6 separate regions of the Homo sapiens genome follow, and all the other regions are linked to region 5. Evidence: promoter capture Hi-C in 16 types of primary human blood cells and fetal thymus (Javierre and others, 2016). All regions are on one chromosome and are shown on one strand. The core of a region is centred on a gene start or on the middle of the fragment in contact, and the rest is flanking DNA. Distances in the headings are between cores, read along the strand shown. Region 1 has its middle 27 kb from the start of AKR1E2. Region 2 has its middle 23 kb from the start of AKR1E2. Region 3 overlaps AKR1E2 (aldo-keto reductase family 1 member E2). Region 4 has its middle 47 kb from the start of AKR1C1. Region 5 holds the start of CALML3 (calmodulin like 3). Region 6 has its middle 66 kb from the start of AKR1C1.

Region 1 (2,876 bases), core at 36-2,535, 670 kb after region 5:
ATGTCCCATGATCCTGTACATGTCTAATCCTGTCACCCATAGCCATCAGCAAAGAGGGCAAGGCAGATTATTCCAAAGACAATAGCAGTTAACATCCCATAGTGCCAAACCCATTCTTAGCCGAAAGAGACTTTACCCAGAGGGGCCTCTAACCCTCCTTAGTTGGGCCTCTAACCCAAGGTCAGTCAAGTGTCCTTGCCTTTTATGAAGAGGGGCCTCTAACCTACTCTGTCTTAGGAGAGACCCTAACTCCCCTAAGTTAGGCCTGCTACCAAATCCCATTCTTTACCTGGGTATACACACCCCACTTACCCAAAGTCCGCTGATCACTGCTGTAGTCTATTTCCTTTGGGTGGGAGGTCTCCTCAGTATCAGCCCTTTTGTGGTTCATGAGAAAAATGTTACTGGACCCCACCCACCACTTACCCAAAGTTAGCCTCTGGGTCGGGGCGGGGGGTTCCTCACTATAGTCCCTTCAGTGGTCACAAGAAAGATGTTACAGCAAAGGGTCTGGAAGAAGACCCCAAGAGAGGGTTCTTAGATCTCGCACGAGTGAATTCAGGGCAAGTCCACAGAGTAAAGTGAAAGCAAGTTTATTAAGAAAGTAAAGGAGTAGGCCAGGTGCGGTGGCTCATGCCTATAATCCCAGCACTTTGGGAGGCCAAGGTGGGCAGATCATGAGGTCAGGAGTTAAAGACCAGCCTGGTCAATATGGTGAAACCCCATCTCTACTAGAAATACAAAAATTAGCTGGATGTGGTGGCATGCACCTGTAGTCCCAGATACTCGGGAGGCTGAGGCAGAAGAATCACTTGAACCCGGGAGGTGGAGTTTGCAGTGAGTTGAGATAGTGCCACTATACTCCAGCCTTGGCAGCAGAGCATGACTCTGTCTAAAAAAAAAAAAAAAAAAAAAAAAAAACAGTAAAGGAGTAAAAGAATGGCTACTCCATAGACAAAACAGCCCCAAGGGCTGCTGGCTGCCCAGTTTTATGGTTATTTCTTGATGATATGCTAAACAAGGAGTACATTATTTCTGCCTCCCCTTTTTAGACCCTATAGGGTAGCTCCCTGACATTGCCATGGCGCTGGTGGGAGTGTAGCATTGAGGACGACCAGAGGTCACTCTCATCGCCATCTTGGTTTTGGGGGATTTATTGCAACCTGTTTTATCAGCAAGGTCTTTATGACCTGTATTTTGTGTGACCTCCTATCTCATCCTGTGACTTAGAATGCCTTAACCATCTGGGAATGCAGCCCAATAGGTCTCAGTCTCATTTTACTCAGCCCCTATTCAAGGTGGAGTTGCTCTGATTTAAATGCCTCTGACAGTTGTCCCCACTTTCAGTTGTTCCATGTTTCCAGACCAAACCAAAGTCTATCTCACTTATACGGATTGGTGTCTTATGTCTCCCTAAAACATATAAAACTAAGCTGTAACCAGACCACAATGGGCACATGTCCTCAGGATCTCCTGAGGCTGTGTCATGGGTCATGGTTCTCATATTTGGCTTAGAATCAATCTCTTCAGATATTTTACAGAGTTTGGTTTTTTTTTTTTTTTTGGCAACAAGTTCCTCATTGCAATATTGCAATTAACCTTAAACAAACTACTGTGTGTCCAGTCTAATGTATCAAAGAAATACAATTATCTGAAAAAGCTCTAAATATGCCTCCTTTTTCCAACTACTAATTTATGAGGCTGGGGTTTTTTCATGAAGTTTAGCCAAGACATTTTGATTGAATGCAGACTCAGATATGAAATCTACAAAGCCAGACTTATTAAATAAGTTTGCAAACATATAAAACAACGCCAATCTTGTAAATATTTTTCTTTTGCCTTGGGGAATATATTATGAGAGTTTGGCTCTGGTTACTATATGCTACAATAGTTTTTAGGGGCTTACTTTCCCCATTGCTTTGTAAATGATTCTAACTCCTAATTGAATTCAATTTCTTTGTTTCTTCTAGTAACATCTATCCCACTCTGATCATTTCCTGAGGTTTCCTAAATGTTCTTTTGTCTTAAGACATAGCCCCACAACCTCTTTTATCTCTTCAGCTTTAAAATATCCCTCAAGGTCACAGACACACACAGAAGGAAGACCATGTGAGGACACAGAAGGAAAAGTCCTGGAGAGAGGCCTCAGAAGAAACCAAATCTGTTAACACCTTGACCCTAGACTTCTAGCCTCTAAAACTGTGAGAAAATGGATTTCTGCCGTGTAAGCCAAAAAAAAGAATAAAATATTTTTAGAACAAAAACAACAAAATAAAATGAAAATAAAAAAGCAGCAGCAATTCCAGCAGACCTTGCCAATCCATCTCTGTTGTATTTTCTGCTTGCAAACTGTCCTAACCTGCTTCAGCGTAAATTCATTAGACACCAGGTGGGGTGGCACAGTGGTGAAGGTCTGTCCCTGCAGCTGTCACAACTCAATCCCACTTAATCTAACTTAATTTCAGAGATTCTCTTCCTTTGGGTAGTCTCTAGCTAACGGTATTCTCCTTCCATTGATGGAGCTATTTCTGTCTTATTATTTTACAAGAATTAATCGCACCACAGTTTCTGTTGTTGCCCAGCATTTGTTCAGGGCCCTTTGTGCCTGCAGAATCTTCTTCACTAATGAGGGCCGTGATCTATCTTGACAAGAGAAGGAGCCTTTTTCATGCTCTTCAGCTCTTTGAGAATTTTCCACTTCCCCCTAGAGATGCTGATTTTTCTAGCCAAGAAATTGCTGTTTCCGTATCTCCTTCTGATTTAAATATACCGCCTCTGTTTAAAATCAGGGCTGGAAGTAAATTAAGCATATAATGGCTTGAACTCGTGTGACTCACCAATCCAGTCTCACAGTAATTGTTTTTCAATGATTTCCC
Region 2 (2,811 bases), core at 118-2,617, 720 kb after region 5:
GATATTCCAGTCCCCACCTCTGTGTGTTCTGATGTCACAGGTCCACTCCACAGGAGGACTGGAACACAGAGGTCTGACACAACAGCCAAATCTAAGCTGCACAACTCTATACCTCTAACAAGCAGTTTAGAAAATATGCTGATATTATCGTTTTTATAAAGAAAACCATTTCAAAATTCTGCATGTTTCAAGAAGTTGGAGATAATTTCCTTTATTTTGAGGAAGACAATACTGAACTATGGGAAGATGGACAAGGTTAGTTCCAGCACAGAGAGTCAAGCTCTCGACAGACATTGGCCTGGACACACAGAAGGACAGGGTTCAATACTCTCTACCAAGCAAGAAAATCCTTCTGTTTCCAGGCTACTGGGAAAGCTAGTTCAGAAAAGGTGGGCTCCATATACTCTCATTCCTTTCTGCACCCCTAAAATCCTGAGACAAAGACATATTCCTAAACTAGGCAAATGTTCAAGCAGTCATTGTAGATTCTGAAACCAAAGGGAAGTGTGATTTGCCTCTTGTTGTATTTATTTGTTGTGTTGTTTTTGTTTATTGTTACCCTTCCAAGTCATAATAAGTAACATTTGAGAAGCTGCACTAAGGTGTCAAATGTCGCTCTTGATTACAGGTCAAGTACAATTTCGACAAATATTATTTTAATTGAGTGATTTCTTAACAACGCAGTGTCCTCATTCTGGTAGATGGGCCAAAGAGGCTTAGCTTTATTGCTTTGTTAAAAGTCAGTCACTCTGTGATGAAAGATGCTATTTTGCACGGGCTACTCTATAGATCTACATGAGAGACCTCCTTGAGCTGTGGCTACTTTTCTGCAGGGTTAGGTAGGGATGTGCTCTCCATGGTTCCTGCCAGCAGGAATCCCTCCCTTCCCCTTCCTGGTGCTCCTCCTCCACAAGTACACAGTCCACAGACCTTGAACTTAGGTAGTGAGAGTAAGAAAGGAAGGGAAAAGAAAAAAAGAGGTAAAAATAAACATCTATAAGTTCCATATACACTGCTGTGAGCGAATGTGTGTGCTTTAGCAGGAGAAAAATATTTTAGTATTGAACAAGCCAACTCAACCCGGACTTTTCCTGCAGAATCCTCAAATAATTAAGCATCCAATAGAAAAAATTAAGCCAGTATGTGACATCATCTGGCCTAGTTTCAAGAACAACTCTACATTAAACATTCTTCACTCTTTCACCTGATGGGCAGGTTGAAGTTTGGCATTGCCTTATACCCCATCCCTTGCTGAACACTGGAAAGGAAGTCACCCCTATGATTAGTGAACGTGTGTCTACTTGTCTGGTCTTCTTCTCGTTCAACAACAACATAAACTACAAAAGCCTGGATTTTTTCTAGTGCTAGGAATTTGGATCATTTAAAACATCTGATCAAATTCAGGTAAAATAAAACTAGTGCAGAAATTACCTATGAAAGAAAAATTGAATAAGAATAAAAGATCAGTGTGTTGGTTGCTTTCCCATCAAACTTGTACAAGGATAACATAGGCTCAGATATGTAAACATCTAAAAATTAAGAAACATGTGACATGAAATGTACACAAAATTTAAAACATGAAACTATAGCAAACTGGCTATGTACTGTTGTGTATTTGCTTAGAAACAGAATATTTCAAGAATTGAATTTAACAATGCATGAACTTATTTACAATTAAAAACAACTTTATAAGGCATATTTCTCAATTTTAATACCCAATCCAACAGCCCAATAAAAGTGGAGAAGCCCTTAACACTTCTTGTATCTTTAAAAGACTAACATTTTCTTTAAGACTTACAACTAAATCTTTAAATAAGAATTAGCTATTTTAACATTAGAAGATAACAATTTTTTAAAGGACTGCATTGTTTTTGCTCAGAGAGTTGCATAGAAAAGGACCTTATCCTCCCCTCTTTTTCTGCTACATACACACACACACACACACACACACACACACATATATACACATCCCCCTCACAAATCAAGTCTTTTCATTTAAAACAAATATTTTGGATGAGGTAATCCTAAGAGTGTCTGAAAGACAACTGTCTCTTTTTTGGTGGGGGAAAGAGTGGAATTGGAGAGAAATCATAAAAAACACTGATGTAGATAATTAGTTGAAGAAATAATATTCATGTTTTTAATAAAATTTTTAAAATTCATCTAAAGCGGTTACTTTATTCATTTGTTTTTACATTAATTCATCTAACAACTATTAATTAAAACCACTAGGAAGTGGAAATTAAAATACTTAAGCAAGTCTTTTTGGTTGCAATTAACAAAACCCCTCTGAGCTGGCAGAATGCAGCACCAAGGGCTGTGGTACAGATCTGAGGCACCTAAGGGAAGGCAGAGGGGCAGCAGGGCCTCCCAGGGAACCATGCCACAGGCTCGCTGTGACCCAAGGTGACAAACCTCTCATCTCTGTGTCTCTCTTCTGCTTTGTTCTTTTCTCTCCTTGCAAACAAACATGTTCTGATTTTGGGTGTGCATGAGTCAAAACAACCCAAACTCTCCTCAGCCCTGCCTGCAGGACACCAGTTAAGCGGCTTACAGACACTCGTTAGAGTTTGAAATCCAAATCCACATTCCAGGAAGAGAGCATCCTGTTGGCCTTGCCCTGCTCTCATGACATCTCAGGTTCATCAGTTATACCTAGAATGTTTCTCAGGAAGGGGTTTGGGCTTGGAGAGTGGATCCAGGAGTTGTGAAATCAGAACAGAGCTTTCAATGCAAGGGTGCCCAACACCCCCGCTTCATGATCTGATAGAAAATCTGATAATGTTATATAACCACACAAACAATGTTTGA
Region 3 (3,065 bases), core at 453-2,952, 690 kb after region 5:
CAGCTCCTGAATGGCAGCTAGACCATGAACCCATGACTCCTGATCTCATGGTCTTACATTCTGCTTCCAAATCAAAAGCAAAGGAATTCTTGAATTCTCCACTATCGTAGTCCACTCTGCATCTTCCACAGGTCCTGACTCCCAATACCCTCCACATCCATTTCCTCTTCTCCCTCCCTCACCCACTGTGCCAGTGCAGGCCTTCATCATCTTCCACCTGCACTGCTGTTAATGTCTCCTACCTGGCCTCCTGCCTCTGCCTCAAATGCAAGCTTCTTTCACCTACTAAAATATCCTATATACAACACAAGTTGCACTCACATATGATACAAGCTGCCCTATTTAAAAATGAAACAGGGCTCCTCTGTCTCTAGGTAAAAGCACAGCTCCTGACAGGGCACAGCTGAACTTCCATGGCTTAGCCTATCCACCACTCAGCCTCACTTCTCATTACTCCTGCAACCTGACATTGTGTGGTCCAGAGAGACCAAGTGATTTGGTTTGGTTGTGTCCACAGCCAAATCTCATCTTGAATTGTAGCTCCCATAATCCCTACGTGTCATGGGAGGGACCCAGTGGGAGGTAACTGAATCATGGGGGCAAGTTTTTCCTATGCTGTTCTGGTGATAGTGAATAAGTCTCGTGACAACTGATGGTTTTATAAACGGCAGTTCCCCTGTACACTTTCTCTTGTCTGCTACCATGTAAGACGTGCCTTTGTTCCTCCTTCGCCTTTTGCCATGATTGTGAGGCCTCCCCAGCTATGTGAAACTGTGAGTCAATTAAACCTCTTTTTCTTTATAAACTACCCAGTCTCAGGTATGTTCGTACAGCAGCATGAGAACAGACTAATACACCAAGCTTCCTACAAACCCCTGCACCTGCCGTGCTGCTTCCTGCCTTATGCCTGTGCTCAAGCTGCTTCCTCCACACCCAGAGTTTCTCCTTCAACAGATGTGGGGTAGAATTTGGAATCTGCATTTAACAATCACCCCAGTGATTCTGAATTTAGGAATCGCTGTGTAAACAGACTTCATGAGGGCTAGGACTTTGTCCTATTCACCACTGTAGTCAAAGTGCCCATCACTAACTGAATTTTGATAATGTATTGTTAATTGGGGGATATCTGTGTACTCCTACCTGAATGACCAAGTAAATAATATGAAACAAACCTGCACACAATATAATTCAGCATGCTCATGAAGCTGTGAATATTCTTGTTTATTCCGATTTGAGTATGAAACAAAGTCATCAACTCCCATAAAGAAAGTAGAAAGCCCTCCAGAGATGTAGCATTACCCAAGCTCTGCCAGCCTTGCATAGAGAAGCCCTACCTTAGTGGCAATGAACAGATCCTCCCGTCTTACAGCGCCTTCCTTGATCTTGCAACGGATCCCTGCTCCAACCTCCCTCTCATTGTGGTAAAAGTAAGCACAGTCGAAGTGCCGGTACCCTGCGTCAATGGCCTCTTTCACTGCCTCGGTCACTTTCCCTGGAGAAGCCTGCAAAACCAACAAAACAAAGTGTCTTCTCACAGTCAGAGGAATCCAACACAAATCTCCCCTTTCACCCAAGCATGTGGACAACATAATACATAAAAAATTAAGTCACTAATTTGGTACTAGTATAATCAGTCTAAAAACAGGCAATATCAGTTATGAAGGAATTTATGAATAATCTAAGTTCCAACTCCTTTACATATTTTGGGAAAAAAAAACTATAGGTTATTTTTAGTGTCTGCAGAAAACTGAGCTAGATGGTATGCTTCCTGAATGATCAAAGCAATAAAAAAGTACAGAATGAATAATAACTGAGATGCAAAGAGGCTTAAGATTTATCCTGTATACTCAGATACCACAGCGTCCAATAATAAAGGCTGAGGTGTAGACTCACACGAAGGTATCCATACAAAAAGAAGTATATAACAAAACCTAAATGAATGTATAATGCTACAAGCAATAAGGTAGTTCAGAAAAGAGAACAGTCACTCTAAATGAAGCTCAGGCAAGGGAAGGGACTAGAACTAGGGAAGACTATGGGGGTGGGCGGGTTTGCAGTCTCATTAAACTGAAGACTGACAAGGGCTTTATAGTTCACAAACCACTTTCTCACTGGAGCTTCACGGTAACCCTAGGAGTTAGAGCAGCATAATTATCTTCATTTTATAGGCAACAGATTCAGAGTGGTTGAAAGCTAATGAACCAAGTATCCATCTTAAGTTAGAAAAAGAACCCAAGAAATTGGATGGAAAGATAAAAATATGATTAAGAATAACATCAATAAAATAGAAAACAAAGATGTAACAGAGAAGATCAACAAAACCAGAAGTCAGTTCTTTGAAAAACTTCAGTAAAATAAACAGACTTCTGGCTAGGTTGATGAAGAGGCCAACTTTTTAAAAAACTGACACGAATGGACAGTAAAACATGCAGATAAAATGGACTTAAAAGAAAATATTACCAATAACTATATGTCAATAACTTGGAAAAATGAGATAAAATGGGAAAATTCCTAGAAAAATTTAACCCAAGAATAAAGCTTGAATAGTTACATAATTATTAAAGAATGCAAGGAATTCAAAAAAAAGAGAAAACCACCAGTTTCATAAAATTTTCAAGAAAAAAATCATCTCAGTTTAACACAGACTTTCAAACAACAGAAAAAGACGGACTTATCTCAACTCATTCTACAAAACTAGCATAACCCTGAATCAAAATCAGACAAAAATATTAAAAGTCACACATTCATCTTATTCATGAATACCGTTGCAAAATTCATAAGTAAAATAAAAGCAAATTGGATGCAACAATATTTATGAAAAGATAATATACCACACCCATGTTGAGTGTATCTCAGATATCTAAGGATGGTTTGATATTAGAAAATCTGTAATTCATCAATATTAACAGATTAAAGTACAAAAACAAAAGTCAACTCAATCAATATTTGTTAAGATTCAATACCAGTTTAGATTCAAAATCTAAACTCCCAGTAAGTCGGGGAAAAGAATTAATCTGATAAAGAGTATCAATATTAAAAAATATCCATCTTACATCCTTTAAAAT
Region 4 (3,252 bases), core at 296-2,795, 610 kb after region 5:
TGATAGGTTTATTTTTAAATAAATTGATGCATAAATATTTTAAATTTTTTTAGTTTAAATTTCTAATTTGGTGCATATCAATGGATGTAGGACATATAAACTCAAGCTTTGGAGGTCCTCAATGATTTTTAAGAGTGTAAAGTGTTCCTAAGACTAAACATTTTGAGAAAAAAGAGTTTCAAATTTATGTAAGGTACTTCAGTCTGTGGGAAAAATACAGAAAACTCTCAATTTATTTTATGAGGCTAGCATAACTGATGATAAACCTGAAAAATAAAAAAGGAAAACTATAACTATAGCTCAATTACACTGATGAACCTAAATGCATAATTCTAAATAAAAATATTACCTAATAGAATCCAAGACTGATGGAACAATCTTGATGGGCAATCACTGAGTAACTGTGGTTCACCGACTCCAGTAACGCCGGAGTCTAAGTCCTCTACCTATTTCCCTAAAGAGAGCCTCGCAAGGCCTGAGGAGTCCGACAATGCTTCATCCCAGCCTTCCACACCCATTGCCATATTTATGGAGGGAGGGAAGAGAGAGAAAAAGAGAGTCAACACTCTTCAGAGGACTCGCTCCTCTTAGAGGTCAGGGATGAAAAATTAGCCAATAAAATAACATTTTCCTACCATTTACGCACTTGATTCATACTAAGATACATGTTTTTAATTCTAGAAATGACAACTTATTGTATCTATATTAAGATAATTCTTTTTTTAACTTTTATTTTAAGTTCAGGGGTACAAGTGCAGTTTTGCTACACAGGTAAACTTGTGTCATGGAGGTTTGTTGTACAGATTATTTCATCGCGCAGGTATTAAGCCTAGTACCCATCAGTTATTTTTCCTGATTCCCTCCTCCTATCCTCCGCCCTCCGAAAGGCCCCAGTGTGTGTTGTTCCCCTCTCTGGGTCCATGTGTTCTCATCATTTAGCTCCCACTTATAAGTGCGGACATGTGGTACTTGGTTTTCTGTCCCTGTGTTAATTTTCTAAAGATAACGGCCTCCAGTTCCATCCATGTCCCTGCAGTGGACACGATCTTGTTCTTTTTTACGGCTGCACAGCATTTCGTGTTGTATACGGACCAGATTTTCTTTCTCCAGTCTGTCATGCACGGGCATTCAGGTGGATTCTACGGCTTTGCTATTGTGAATGTGCCGCAATAAACATACACAGGCACACGTCTTTATAACACAATGATGTATAAGCTTCTGGGTGTACAGCCAGTAATGGGATTGTTGGGCCAAATGGTTCAAGTTTTCCAATGAGAATATATTGTATGAATAACTTCTGAATTTTCATATCAGATTCAGACACTTTTCTGAAAGACAAGCACATGGCCGGCCAGGTTCTCACATTTCAGGAAGGGCTACTGTTTGCCTGAGGGTCCTTAGGGATATGTTATTGTTATTATTTTTCTATTAAATATTCTATTAAATCGATATTAAATTTAAATTTAATATCTATTAAATCAATATTAAATTCTATTAAATAGTTATTAAATCTGTGCTTGACCCACTTCTGCTTTGATTATGATAAATAATTTGGTCTGTGACTTTAACTGTAGCATAGGAGGGAGGGTTAAATATAAAAGAGCAGGTAACAGCCAAGATCAATTTATTTTGCAAGTTTCACAATAAAAGATCACAAGGCAAGCAAGAACATAAGAACTTTTCCAATGTCTAAAGGGCAATGGTTTCTCCCTTTACACCCGCTGTGAAGTTCAGTGTTTTTCTATTCATGATTGGACATGTCCTAGACATCACTTAGAGGTAAGCACCAAAATCTTTATTTATAGGAAACAATTCTCTGGATGTCAGGAAATATTCCTGTCTCAATATGGGACCATTCCCAGTTACTAAGCTTTAAATTATCATGCATACTTTTTGGTCTTTTAAGTGATTATATTGAGTGCTTTCTTAGGGCTTTCTTTGTAATTTGAAATTACTTGCTAAACTTGTTTAATTATTTCTATATAAAGGATATAAATTATAATTATGTAATTTTAAATAAATGCATAAATGCAACCATGTTCTGCTTTTTACTTTTTCTTTCAATTATTTGTCCTCAGTCGCATGGATATATACATGCTGTGTAGCTGAACTTTTTTCTTTCTCTTCAGATCTCCTTATGCCCTTTCCTTTCCATGTCACTCTTTTCAGCAGCTCCTCACACTAATTTATTAACAGCTTAATATGTACTTCCATATTTTCCCCATGCTCATATAATACAGAACTATTTCTTTAAAAAAAAAACATATATATATATATATATGTAGGCTGGGTGCAGTGGCTCACGCCTGTAATCCCAGCACATTGGGAGGCTGAGGAAGGCAGATCACCTGAGGCCAGGAGATCGAGACCAGCCTGACCAACATGGAGAAACCCTATCTCTACTAAAAATACAAAAAATTAGCCAGGCATGGTGGCAGGGCACGCCTGTAATCCCAGCTACTTGGGAGGCTGAGGCAGGAGAATTGCTTGAACCTGAAAGGTGGAGGTTGCAGTGAGCCAAGATCACACCATTGCACTCCTGGGAAAAAAGGGCGAACTTCCATCTTAAAAAATATATATATATATTTTTATATATAATTATATGTATACATATAATTATATAGTATATAATTATAAGTATACATATAATTATACATATTTAATTATATAATATTAATATATAAATATAATTATATATAATAAATTTATATATATAAAATATATATGAAATATATATAACATATTTTATATATAAAATATGTATATATTTTATATCTATAAATGGCTCCCACTTATAAGTGCAGACATGTGGTATTTGGTTTTCTGTCCCTGTGTGAATTTATAATATATATATTTAGATATTATATACTTTACATATTTATATATTATATATTTAATATATTAATATATTATATAGTTATATATAATTATATATTTATATATTATATAATATATATTATATAATATATATTAATATATATTTTTTCTCAAATATATATATTTATTTCTGGTGTAATTATTCTGGTGTATAATTATTCTGGTGTAATATATATATATTTCTCATAACATATATTTTTTCTCAAATATATAATTACATATTATATATTTATATATGAAATATTTAAATATTTCACATATAATTTTATAATATATAAATATTTCATATATAAAGTATATATTATATATATGTATGTATAAATACAACACACAGAAAGTATTTGGTCATGGCTTAACAAAACTGGATCCTGATAC
Region 5 (2,828 bases), core at 170-2,669:
GTATAGGAATTCATTGCATTTTCAAAAAGCACAAAAATGGAGATTCCTGCCTCGTTTCAACCCTGAATTTAACAAGGATCATTTCCATGGAAACCAAAAAAAAAAAGGAAATGAAATAAGGACGAATATCTCATTTATTTCCCTGCAGCTCTCATCCCCTGCTCATCCAAGCCTCCCTCCTTCCAGATGAATAGGAACAGGTTACAGCTGACCCAGTTTCACTCCCAGCTTCAGAAGATGAATCACGGTGGGTTGGCGGACAAGGAATGGGGCAAGCTGGGGCAGCGCGGAAGGCAGTGCTGTTTTCAGGAGGCCTGACCTCTGTGGCCAGAGTCCCCGTCAGCACCGCTTACTGCAGGCCAAGATGCCTCCCACCCTCCAGAATCCGACCGCGGAGGGAGCTTCCAGTCCAGGAGCCTGCGGGAATCCTGGCGGGGGCTGAGGGCTGCAGCCCCCCTGGCCTGGGCATTGGGTGCCTCTTAGGGATCTTGCCTGGGTGCCCTAAGGGGTCACCCGGTGTCCGTCCTGGAGGGCCGCAGAGTCAGCGCAACCTGCCCTGGTGCTCGGTCCTAAGGTCAGCTCTGCTTCTCCCGAGTGGGGAGGGCGTCACGGTTTGCCTGCAGTGGGAGCGTTCCGTGTCATTCAGACGAGCAGGTGGGAAGGTCGGCAGGAGTGCAGAGAAGAGACGCGGGAAGCGGGATGCAGAGAGGTGGGCTGAATCAACCAGGCGCAGGAGGAAGCCACAGTGCCCAGGGGAGGCAGGGGGATGGGGGAGGAGGCGGGAGGCCCCGGGTTCTTGCCCTGTGGGCCGCGTGGGCGCCCAGGAGCATGGTGGGCGCCGGCCTCACTTGGACACCAGCACACGGACAAACTCCTCGTAGTTCACCTGTCCGTCTCCGTCCGTGTCCGCGGCCCGGATCATCTCGTCCACCTCCTCGTCACTCAGCTTCTCCCCCAGCCGGGTCATGACGTGTCGCAGCTCGGCGGCGCTGACGAAGCCGTTGCCGTCCTTGTCGAACACGCGGAAGGCCTCGCGGATCTCCTCCTCGTTGTCCGTGTCCTTCATCTTCCTGGCCATCATGCCCAGGAACTCGGGGAAGTCCACGGTGCCGTTGCCGTCCCGGTCGATCTCACTCATCATGTCCCGCAGCTCGGCCTCCGTGGGGTTCTGGCCCAGGGACCGCATGACCGTGCCCAGCTCGCGGGTGGTGATGCAGCCGTCCCCATCCTTGTCAAACAGGGAGAAGGCCTCCTTGAATTCTGTGACCTGCTCCTCAGTCAGCTGGTCGGCCATGCCAGGGGTGGGGGCGTGGGTGGCAGAAGAGGCCACTGTGGGGTCTCCCTCCCAGTGCCGCAGCCCGGCTGCTGTCCCAGCTCTGGGGTGGCAGGTGGAGATCCGGGCGGCCGGCGGGCTGTCTCGCCCTGGCTTGAGACGCTGGAGCTTAAGAAGCAGCAGAGTCCTCCCCCATCATTGGCAGACGCCCCTGCCCTGCGGTTGCCCGGGCCTGTCCTGTTTAGACAGGAGTCCAGGGCCTGCGAATCGAGCTGACGCCAGCACCTCTGTGCCTGCTTGCACCTGGACCCAGCAGAGCCACGGGGGCCCCGAATCACACCTGCAGTCAGGGCGTGGTGGGTGAGCTTTGGAGCAATCCACGCTGGACTCCTTCCTCCTGAATTTCCCTTTCTCTCCTCCCTCCCCGTCTCCCACCTGCCGCCTGTCTCCCACTCAATAAACTCCAGTGCCCTTTCTTCCCTTGAGTGGAGGGCTTTTTGCAGGATGAAAGGCAGATGAAAGAAACGTCCTTGCCTTTGGTTTCTAAAGCCTCATATAGAACAGGAGGGTTTTTGGAGGAGGAAGGTTTTCCCTTCAGGTAGAAGCAGCGAGTTTTCTTATCTTCAGAATGGACATGAATAGGGAGGGGTTTCCTCCAACCCATTCACTCATCCACCCTTTCACAGATATTTGAGTGCCTACTAGGTGCAGTGTCACTCTGGAAGCTGGGAACACAGTGGGACCGGCAAGCCACCCCCAGTCCTCGTGAGGTTAACTAGCAAGACAGCTAGTTTGCAGGTCAACTGATCGAGGAATGCAAACAAGGTGACTAGGGATTATTGATAAATGCTGATGGACATACAAGGTGGTGATGGACAGGACCCCGAGGTCACCTTTCAGCCTGGTCAAGGACAGACCTCCTGCTGAGAAGCAGCTGTCTAGGCCGGAGTGGCCATGGCAGGGCCAAGGGCTGGAAGATGATCAGTGGGGCTGCAGGCCTGTGAGGGAGGGGACAAGGAGGAGAGACAAAGGAGACCTTGAAGGGCTCAGCCAGGAAGTCCCACTATCATTCTCTGGTCCACATTGCCCCAGGAGCTCCGGGCAGCATGGAGCTGGGGCTGTGGAGCGGCCTCTCCCAGAGGAGACCCGCTTAGGGGGATAGTGGGGTGTTCACAGCACAGACTCGGCTCCCACTCCCAGGGGGCCTGGAGACATGACCCCCAGAGAGGCAGGAGCAGGCGCTTCACCTGTGGGAATCCAAGAAATCCACACTGGGGGAGAAACATGGAGCCCACTCTATTTTTTGCTGGGTGTGTGGGGGTGGGGTAGAGACCGGAAAGGGAAAGAAAGTGTCCTTTTGAGGACCTGGACTTGCCGAGGAGAGACTATGGCAGGAGAAGGGCTCGGATATTCATTTTTTTTCTCTCTGATTTTCCTTCCCTTCTCTATTCAAGTAGAGGCAAGTGTGTCCTTCTGGTCTGGAGGGGGTCTGTGGTAGGGGGAAAATTGAAGCCACCTGCAAGACACCTTCCTTCCTACCTGAGGGCTCCCACAA
Region 6 (2,991 bases), core at 11-2,510, 630 kb after region 5:
ATTTAAGTCTTTAATCCATCTTGAATTAATTTTTGTATAAGGTATAAGGAAAGGATCCAGTTTCAGCTTTCTACATATGGATAGCCAGGTTTCCCAGCACCATTTATTAAATAGGGAATCCTTTCCCCACTTCTTGTTTTTGTCAGGTTTCTCAAAGATCAGATGATTGTAGATGTGTGGTGTTATTTCTGAGGCCTCTGTTCTGTTCCATTGGTCTATATATCTGTTTTGGTACCAGTACCATGCTGTTTTGGTTACTGTAGCCTTGTACCTGACCTCAAATTTTACTACAGAGCTATAGTAATCAAAACAGCAGGGTATTGTCATAAAAACAGACACATATATCAATGGAACAGAACAGAGAACCCAGAAACAAATCTACACACCTACAGTGCACTCATTTTTAACAAGGTGCCAAGAACATACACTAGGGAAAAGACAATCTCTTCGATAAATAGTGCTGGGAAAACTGGATATCTATATGCAGAAGAATGAAACTAGACCCCTATCTCTTGCCATATGCAAAAAAATCAAATCAAAATGGGTTAAAAGTTTAAATCTAAGATCTCAAACTACGAAACTACTACAAGAAAACATTGGAGAAATCTTCAGGACATTGGTCTGGGCAAAAATTTCTTGACTAATACCCTATAAGCATAGGCAACCAAAGCAAAAACGGACAAACGGAATCATAAGTTACAAAGCTCTGCACAGAAAAGGAAACAATTAACAAAGTGAAGCGAAAACCCCCACAGAATGGGAGACAATATTTGCAAACTCTTCATCTGACAAGGTATTAATAACCAAAATACATCGGGAGCTCAAACAACTCTATAGGAAAAAAATGTAATAATCCAATTTAAAAAATGGTCAAAAGATTTGAATAGATTTTTTTTAATCTGTCATTATTTCCAGCTTTATCTTATAAAGTTTGTTTATTTTTCTTAGTTTTTTTTTATTATATTTTAAGTTTTAGGGTACATGTGCACAACCTGCAGGTTAGTTACATATGTATACATGTGTCATGTTGGTGTGCTGCACCCATTTACTCGTCATTTAACATTAGGTATATCTCCTAATGCTATCCCTCCCCTCTTCCCCCACCCCACAACAGGCCCCGGTGTGTGATGTTCCCTTTCCTGTGTCCATGTGTTCTCATTGTTCAATTCCCACCTATGAGTGAGAACATGCGGTGTTTGGTTTTTTGTCCTTGTGATAGTTTGCTGAGAATGATGGTTTCCAGCTTCACCCATGTCCCTACTAAGGACATGAACTCATCATTTTTTATGGCTGCATAGTATTCCATGGTGTATACGTGCCACATTTTCTTAATCCAGTCTATCATTGTTGGACATTTGGGTTGGTTCCAAGTCTTTGCTATTCTGAATAGTGCCGCAATAAACATACGTGCGCATGTGTCTTTACAGCAGCATGTTTTATAATCCTTTGGGTATTTACCCAGTAATGGGATTGCTGGGTCAAATGGTATTTCTAGTTCAAGATCCCTGAGGAATCGCCACACTGTCTTCCACAATGGTTGAACTAGTTTACAGTCCCACCAACAGTGTAAAAGTGTTCCTATTTCTCCACATCCTCTCCAGCACCTGTTTTTTCCTGACTTTTTAATGATCGCCATTTTAACTGGTGTGAGATGGTATCTCATTGTGGTTTTGATTTGCATTTCTCTGATGGCCAGTGATGATGAGCATTTTTTCATGTGTCTTTTGGCTGCATAAATGTCTTCTTTTGAGAAGTGTCTGTTCATATCCTTCGCCCACTTTTTGATGGAGTTGTTCGTTTTTTTCTTGTAAATTTGTTGGAGTTCATTGTAGATTCTGGATATTAACCCTTTGTCAGATGAGCAGATTGCAAAAATTTTCTCCCATTCTGTAGGTTGCCTGTTCAATCTGATAGTAGTTTTTTTTTTGCTGTGCAGAAGCTCTTTAGTTTAATTAGATCCCATTTGTCAATTTTGGCTTTTGTTGCCATTGTTTTTGGTGTTTTAGACATGAAGTCCTTGCCCATGCCTATGTCCTGAATGGTATTGCCTAGGTTTTCTTCTAGGGTTTTTATGGTTTCAGGTCTAATATTTAAGTCTTTAATCCATCTTGAATTAATTTTTGTATAAGGTGTAAGGAAGGGATCCAGTTTCAGCTTTCTACATATGGCTAGCCAGTTTTCCCAGCACCATTTATTAAATAGGGAATCCTTTCTCCATTTCTTGTTTTTGTCAGGTTTGTCAAAGATCAGATAGTTGTAGATATGCAGCATTATTTCTGAGGGCTCTGTTCTGTTCCATTGGTCTATATCGCTGTTTTGGTACCAGTACCATGCTGTTTTGGTTACTGTAGCCTTGTAGTATAGTTTGAAGTCAGGTAGCATGATGCCAATATCCCTGATGAACATCAATGCAAAAATCCTCAATAAAATATGAATCCAGCAGCACATCAAAAAACTTATTCACCATGATCAAGTGGGCTTCATCCCTGGGATGCAAGGTTGGTTCAACATGTGCAAATCAACAAACATAATCCAGCATATAAACAGAACCAATGACAAAAACCACATGATTATCTCAATAGATACAGAAAAGACCTCTGACAAAATTCAACAATGCTTCATGCTAAAAACTCTCCATAAATTAGGTATTGATGGGATGTATCTCAAAATAATAAGAGCTATCTATGACAAACCCACAGCCATTATCATACTGAATGGGCAAAAAACTGGAAGCATTCCCTTTGAAAACTGGCACAAGACAGGGATGCCCTCTCTCACCACTCCTATTCAACATAGTGTTGGAAGTTCTGGCCAGGGCAATCAGGCAGGAGAAGGAAATAAAGGGTATTCAATTAGGAAAAGAGGAAGTCAAATTGTCCCTGTTTGCAGATGACATGATTGTACATCTAGAAAACCCCATCGTCTCAGCCCCAAATCTCCTTAAGCTGACAGGCAACTTCAGCAAAGTCTCAGGATACAAAATCAATGTAC

What was found. The method cuts DNA at HindIII sites, captures the fragments that hold promoters and counts their contacts. A CHiCAGO score of 5 or more calls a contact.
Region 1: a contact is called between a fragment that was not itself captured here and the fragment with the promoter of CALML3 in region 5, in 3 of 17 cell types (M1 macrophages, total CD4 T cells and M0 macrophages). The highest score is 7.1, in M1 macrophages.
Region 2: a fragment that was not itself captured here is called in contact with the fragment with the promoter of CALML3 in region 5 in 1 of 17 cell types (erythroblasts); the score reaches 5.2 in erythroblasts.
Region 3: a contact is called between a fragment that was not itself captured here and the fragment with the promoter of CALML3 in region 5, in 2 of 17 cell types (M1 macrophages and M0 macrophages). The highest score is 8.0, in M1 macrophages.
Region 4: a fragment that was not itself captured here is called in contact with the fragment with the promoter of CALML3 in region 5 in 1 of 17 cell types (M1 macrophages); the score reaches 5.9 in M1 macrophages.
Region 6: a contact is called between a fragment that was not itself captured here and the fragment with the promoter of CALML3 in region 5, in 1 of 17 cell types (M1 macrophages). The highest score is 5.5, in M1 macrophages.

Annotation. Positions count from the first base shown.
Region 1 is chr10:4,852,131-4,855,006 of GRCh38, reverse strand. It overlaps a transcript of AKR1E2 not described here. Among named protein-coding and RNA genes, the nearest start is that of AKR1E2, 27 kb to the right of the region's middle. The HindIII fragment of the contact is 5,440 bases long and covers 1-2,876 here.
Region 2 is chr10:4,801,347-4,804,157 of GRCh38, reverse strand. No RefSeq gene overlaps it. Among named protein-coding and RNA genes, the nearest start is that of AKR1E2, 23 kb to the left of the region's middle. The HindIII fragment of the contact is 3,618 bases long and covers 1-2,811 here.
Region 3 is chr10:4,829,112-4,832,176 of GRCh38, reverse strand. AKR1E2 (aldo-keto reductase family 1 member E2) reads right to left here. Exons shown (of 10, transcript NM_001040177.3): 2 at 1,335-1,502. Among named protein-coding and RNA genes, the nearest start is that of AKR1E2, 4.4 kb to the right of the region's middle. The HindIII fragment of the contact is 1,677 bases long and covers 864-2,540 here.
Region 4 is chr10:4,914,720-4,917,971 of GRCh38, reverse strand. It overlaps the pseudogene AKR1C6P. Among named protein-coding and RNA genes, the nearest start is that of AKR1C1, 47 kb to the left of the region's middle. The HindIII fragment of the contact is 655 bases long and covers 1,218-1,872 here.
Region 5 is chr10:5,523,552-5,526,379 of GRCh38, reverse strand. CALML3 (calmodulin like 3) reads right to left here and starts at 1,419. Exons shown (of 1, transcript NM_005185.4): 1 at 1-1,419. The coding sequence starts at 1,294. The coding sequence ends at 845. CALML3-AS1 (CALML3 antisense RNA 1) reads left to right here and starts at 134. Exons shown (of 3, transcript NR_120497.1): 1 at 134-247. RefSeq lists enhancers at 1-414, 415-1,114. The HindIII fragment of the contact is 11,209 bases long and covers 1-2,828 here.
Region 6 is chr10:4,896,295-4,899,285 of GRCh38, reverse strand. It overlaps the pseudogene AKR1C6P. Among named protein-coding and RNA genes, the nearest start is that of AKR1C1, 66 kb to the left of the region's middle. The HindIII fragment of the contact is 9,579 bases long and covers 1-2,991 here.